2 separate regions of the Homo sapiens genome follow, and region 2 is linked to region 1. The links are contacts of gene promoters, found by promoter capture Hi-C in human tissues and cell types (Jung and others, 2019). All regions are on one chromosome and are shown on one strand. The core of a region is centred on a gene start or on the middle of the fragment in contact, and the rest is flanking DNA. Distances in the headings are between cores, read along the strand shown.

What was found. Contacts are between HindIII fragments. The study calls those that stand out against the background at their distance.
Region 2: a contact is called between a fragment that was not itself captured here and the fragment with the promoter of YEATS4 in region 1, in 1 of the 25 tissues and cell types used here (dorsolateral prefrontal cortex).

What each region holds. Positions count from the first base shown.
Region 1 is chr12:69,358,402-69,361,223 of GRCh38, reverse strand. YEATS4 (YEATS domain containing 4) reads right to left here and starts at 1,481. Exons shown (of 7, transcript NM_006530.4): 1 at 1,201-1,481. The coding sequence starts at 1,251. RefSeq lists a silencer at 947-1,106 and enhancers at 532-1,133, 1,387-1,576, 1,134-1,737. The HindIII fragment of the contact is 10,052 bases long and covers 1-2,822 here.
Region 2 is chr12:70,381,748-70,384,492 of GRCh38, reverse strand. The region is part of intron 1 of KCNMB4 (potassium calcium-activated channel subfamily M regulatory beta subunit 4); the gene reads right to left. Among named protein-coding and RNA genes, the nearest start is that of KCNMB4, 17 kb to the right of the region's middle. The HindIII fragment of the contact is 3,527 bases long and covers 1-2,745 here.

The sequences.
Region 1 (2,822 bases), core at 232-2,731:
CTAATTATTGCTATTTTTTTTTTAAAGAAACATTGTCTTGCTCTGTCGCCCAGGCTAGAGTGCAGTGGCACGATCTCAGCTCACTGCAACTTCCGCCTCTCGGGTTCAAGCGATTTTCCTGCCTCAGCCCCTCTAGTAGCTGGGATTACAGGTGCCCGCCACCACGCCCGGCTAATTTTTGTATATTTAGTAGAGACGGGGTTTCACCATGTTGACCAGCCTGGTCTTGAACTTCTGATCTCAGGTGATCCACCCTCCTCGGCCTTCCAAAGTGCTGGGATTACAGGCGTGAGCCACCTTGCCCGGCCCTGCACGTTAATTTTTAAGGCAGGACCCACTGGCTCCTGATAAAAACAACTATTTGTACCCCTTCTGATTTTTATTTATAAAGGAAAGGAAATTTTTCTTTAAAAAGAATGAACCACGGCTGGGCGCGGTGGCTCACGCCTGTAATCCCAGCACTTTGGGAGGCCGAGGTTGCAGTGAGCCGAGATCGTGCCATTGCGCTCCAGCCTGGGCAACAAGACAGACACTTCGTCTCAAAAAAAAAAAAAAATTAACGTGCCAGGGGCTGTGTGAGGGAAATAAATATTACAATGTCAAACATTACGCTAGGGTCTATGGTAATTTCATCAAAAACAAAAGAAGTTGACATTTACTGAATGTTCCCCATGTGCCAGGCACAGTGTTATGCTCTTGCTTTGAGGCTTTGTGAACACCATGAACTCCAGCAAATTTTCTTAGCTTTCGTATGCCTCGGTGTCTCAGTTACCGCACTTGGAAATACTGCGGGTAAGCGCTCAGCGACTGTTTGCTACAGTTATTGTTATCCTCACACCAGGAGGGTGGCGTCACCGCTTCACCAATAACCTAGATTGGCAGCGAATGTGCACCAAGCTGAGCTTTCCCAGCCCTCGGAGTCGCCCGTTTCCTTGGCAGCCACGTCCGGGTTTCCCCAAGCCACCATTTATCTGTTTGTTTTTTGGCGGGGGTGGGAGTTGGCAGTGACGCGAGGAAGTTGGGGCCCAATGAACGCCGGTTTTTCGCTCAATGGCTCTGACTCGCTCTCCAACCTGAAACCACGGTTCAAACCCGAGGAGAAAAGGCGCGAAAGGAAACCCAGTGGGCCCTCCCCGCGCCGCGCAGGGAGGAACCGAGGCGGGAGAGCCACCCCGGAAGAGGGGCGGTCCGGGCACTGACCTTTACTCTCCCGCCGGAGTCAGGCCCAAATTCGGCCATTCTCTTGAACATATTGTCCCACGGAAGAAGCCGCCGCCGCCAGGGAAAGAGACCGGGGCTGGCGGGGTCGCCGCTCCCCTCAGAGACCGCGCTCCTGTCGCGCGGGCCCAGGCGGAGGGTTTCTAGCCGAAGGAGGGCGAGTTACTTGGGCTCACGGCGGTGAGTAACCGTCAACTCCTCAGGCCGACTGTGCTCCTGAAGGCCATTCAGGCCCGCGCAGGTGGAGAACGCCGCGAAAAGAGGGGCGACGGCCGCACCGCGCGCAGGCGCAACGGGCTCGCGTATGCGCACGCAGTGTACACTGCGCACGCGCCTGGCGGCTGCAGTCACATCACAGGACCAGTGCAGGAGTTCCAAACCAAAAAAAAAATGAAAGGCAGGAAATAATAAATGACTTCAAAAAGTTGTCCAGATGTTAAGGAGATGAGTTTCCACACTGAAAGATCCTACTAAGCACCCAGCACAAATATTAAAGCATCCACGTCAAGGCATATCATTGTGAATTTTCTGAACATCGAGGAAAAAGAGATCCCACACCCTTCCAGGTTATACAGACTATAGAATCAGAGTGGCTTCAGATTGCTCAGTTAGAATCTAGGAAGCCATACGGCACTGTCTTCAAAACTCTGAGGGAAAATTACTTCCGATTTAGTCTTCAATACTCATCCAACTACCAATCTAGTGTGTGAATAGAATAGAGTTTCAGATGTGCTAAATCACTACACACAAAAAATAGTACCTATCTTACCTTTCTCAGTACCTCCAGGAAGATCCTGTAGATCTGATCCACCAAAATGAGGGAATAAGCCAAGAAGGAGGAAATTATGAAATGCAGGAAATACAATAAATAACAAACACAGAAAATAGTAAGATCCCAAGATGATACTGAAAGAGCTCCGGGAACAATAGCTGTGTATAGGCATAGACGGCAACGCATCTAGATTAGATTCGGTCAGAAATCTTTGGGAGACACTGCTTCAGAAGGATGGGATTGACAAAATTCCAGCTGGCGTTGAATCAAGAGGAGATTTGACCGAGAGTTTGGAGTTTAACTCATGACAGGTACACAGAAAACTAAGCGGCTGTAAGAATTATGCAGCTATTAATTCTAGGGAAAACAAAATCTTGTGCAAGAAAGGAAAGTAATTGTATTTATTGTTACATAAATACTGAGTATTGGCCGGGCGCGGTGGCTCACGCCTGTAATCCCAGCACTTTGGGAGGCCAAGGTGGGCGGATCACGAGGTCAGGAGATCGAGACCATCCTGGCTAACACGGTGAAAACCCGTCTCTACTAAAAATACAAAAAAATTAGCCGAGCGTGGTGGTGGGCGCCTGTAGTCCCAGCTGCTTGGGAGGCTGAGGCAGAAGAATGGCGTGAACCCGGGAGGCGGAGCTTGCCTTGAGCCGAGATCGCACCACTGCACTCCAGCCTGGGTGACAGAGCAAGACTCCGTCTCAAAAAAAAAAAAAAAACAAAACAAAAAAAAACTGAGTATTGATCCCCCCTCCCCCTCAAAAAAAGAATTACATTTAGAAGGATGGGCTTTGGAGAAGGGTACTATGCTTGATGGGGATGGAGG
Region 2 (2,745 bases), core at 166-2,665, 1.0 Mb before region 1:
CTTTTCAGTCATTCATTATCGTGGTGACAAGTTGGGATGGGAGAGGGGTATTTAAGTAAAACAGCATGGTTTTGTAAGAAGGTAGTTTTATCTTAATACATCGATCCTCTCCATTGTAATATTTAGTCTCTTGTGTTTCACAGAGCATTTATTTTAAAGTAACAGTTCTCAGTTTTCTCTCACAAAAATAAGCCTTCTTTATTGGAGAAATTTAGAAGCTACAGGTGGTCAAAAATCGTATTTATGGTGTGCATTTTTTCCATTTTGTCATTTATCTTTGATCTTTGTATATAGTCTTTTTTCATATAAAAATGTTCAATTTACATGAACACAATAGGGTCTTGCAGATGGAATTAGTTAAGATGAGGTCACAGTGGATTAGAGTAGGCCCTAAATTCAATGACTGGTGTTTTTTGTTTGTTTTGAGATGGAATCTTGCTCTGTCACTCAGGCTGGAATGCAGTGGCACGGTCTCGGCTCACTGCAACTTCTGCCCCCTGGGTTCAAGTGATTTTCCTGCCTCAGCCTCCTGAGTAGCTGGGGTTATAGGTGCACATCATCAAGCCCAGCTAATTTTTATGTTTTTAGGAGAGACAGGGTTTCACCATGTTGGCCAGGCTGGTCTCAAACTCCTGGCCTCAAGTGATCCACCCAACTTGGCCTCCCAAAGTGCTGGGATTACAGGCGTAAGCCACCGCACCTGGCTGTACTGGTGTTTTTATAAGAGAAAGAAGAAAGGGATACGGAGACACATACAGAGGGAAAAAGGCCATGTGAAGACAGAGGCAGCAACTGGAGTGATGCAACTGCAGGCCAAGGAATGCAAGGATTGCAGGAAACAACCATTGCTAGGAAGAGGCAAGGAAGGGTGTTTTTCTAGAGCCTTCAGGGGAGCATGGACCTGTTTGATTTTGGACTTACAGACTTCAGAACTGTGGACAAATAAATCTCTGTTGAGTTAAGCAACCTCGTTTGTAGTACTTTGTTATGGCAGCCCTAAGACCCTAAGACATGTATTTTTCAGGATTTTGATATGTATTTCCAAGTTGACATGCAATTGCTCCTGCAACATGTTGCCACCAGCAGTGCACAAGACTGCCCACATCCCCATATTGCCACCAATTTAATATGTACCAACTTGATAGGCAGAAAAGGTATCTCAACATTGCATTAATTAATATTTCTTTTTTCCCCTTAGCTTTACTGAAATATACTTGACAAATAAAAATTGCACATATTTAAGGTATATAACGTGATGTTTTGATATATGTGTACGTTGTGAAATAACTGCCACAATCTAATTAGCACGTCCATCACCTTACATAGTTATGATCTGATTAGTACAGTCCTGTGCTGAATAATGACATTTCAGTCAATGATGAACTGCATTTATGACTGTGGTCTCATGAGATTATAATACTGTATTTTTACTGTACCTTTTCTATGTTTAAATACACAAAAACTTACCATTCTGCTACAACTGCCTATAGTATTCAGTACACTCATAGTACAGGTTTGTAGCCTAGGAGCAATAGGCTATATCATATAGCCTGGGTGTGTAGTAGGCTATACTATCTAGGTTTGTGTAAGTACACTCTATGATGTTCACAGGACAAAATCACCTTAAACAATGAACGACTGTATTTCTTTGATTTTTAGTGAGATACCACATATTTTTCATGTTTTTATTTGTAATTCTTTACTGAACTGCCTACGCATGTTCATGCCTAGTATTTTACTGAAGAGATGGTCTTTTATTGCTAAGAGTACTTCATATGTTGACTTTTTAATCATTTCCCCACCATGTTGCAAACATTTGTCCAAATTTATCATTTTTCCTTCAATTTTAATGTTCAAAAAAATGTGTAAGTTTTCCCTTATTATATCATTAATCAGTGTATTCCTTTATGATTTCTGTCCTTGCTACATGTTTAGAAAAGCTTTGCCCACCCCATATATACAATATTAATGTATAAAATATATATTTACCCAAATTTTATTTAGTACTTTCATAATTTATTTTTGTACCTTTAAATTTTTTTTTTTTTTTTTTTTTTTTTGAGACGGAGTCTCGTTCTGTCGCCCAGGCGGGAGTGCTGTGGCGCGATCTCCGCTCACTGCAAGCTCCGCCTTCCGGGTTCACGCCATTCTCCTGCCTCAGCCTCCAGAGTAGCTGGGACTACAGGCGCCCGCCACTGCGCCCGGCTAATTTTTTGTATTTTTAGTAGAGACAGGGTTTCACCGTGGTCTCGATCTCCTGACCTCGTGATCCGCCCGCCTCGGCCTCCCAAAGTGCTGGGATTACAGGCGTGAGCCACCGCGCCCGGCCACCTTTAAAATTTTATTCCATCAAAACTAAAATTTTAATTTTAATTAGATGTATATTTCTAAGTAAATATTTTCCAAATAACATTTTGATGATTCCTAGTATTTTCCAAACAAGTTTTTAAATTTAGAAAATTAGTTTTTTAAAATTTATTTCCAAAAAATAATAGGCAGTTTTAACACCACTTGCTGAATAATACATTGCTTTACAAGTTATTTGAAATGCTGAAATTTGCAAAGCAATCATTCATTATTATTTTTTGGGCAAGAGATTTATTGAAATATAATTCACATACCATCCAATTTACCCATTAAAAGTGTACAATTTAATGGTTTTTAGTAGATTGCACAGAGGTGTGCAACAATCATCACAATCAATTTTAGAATGTTTTCATTACACCAAAAAGACCCCTGTACCCT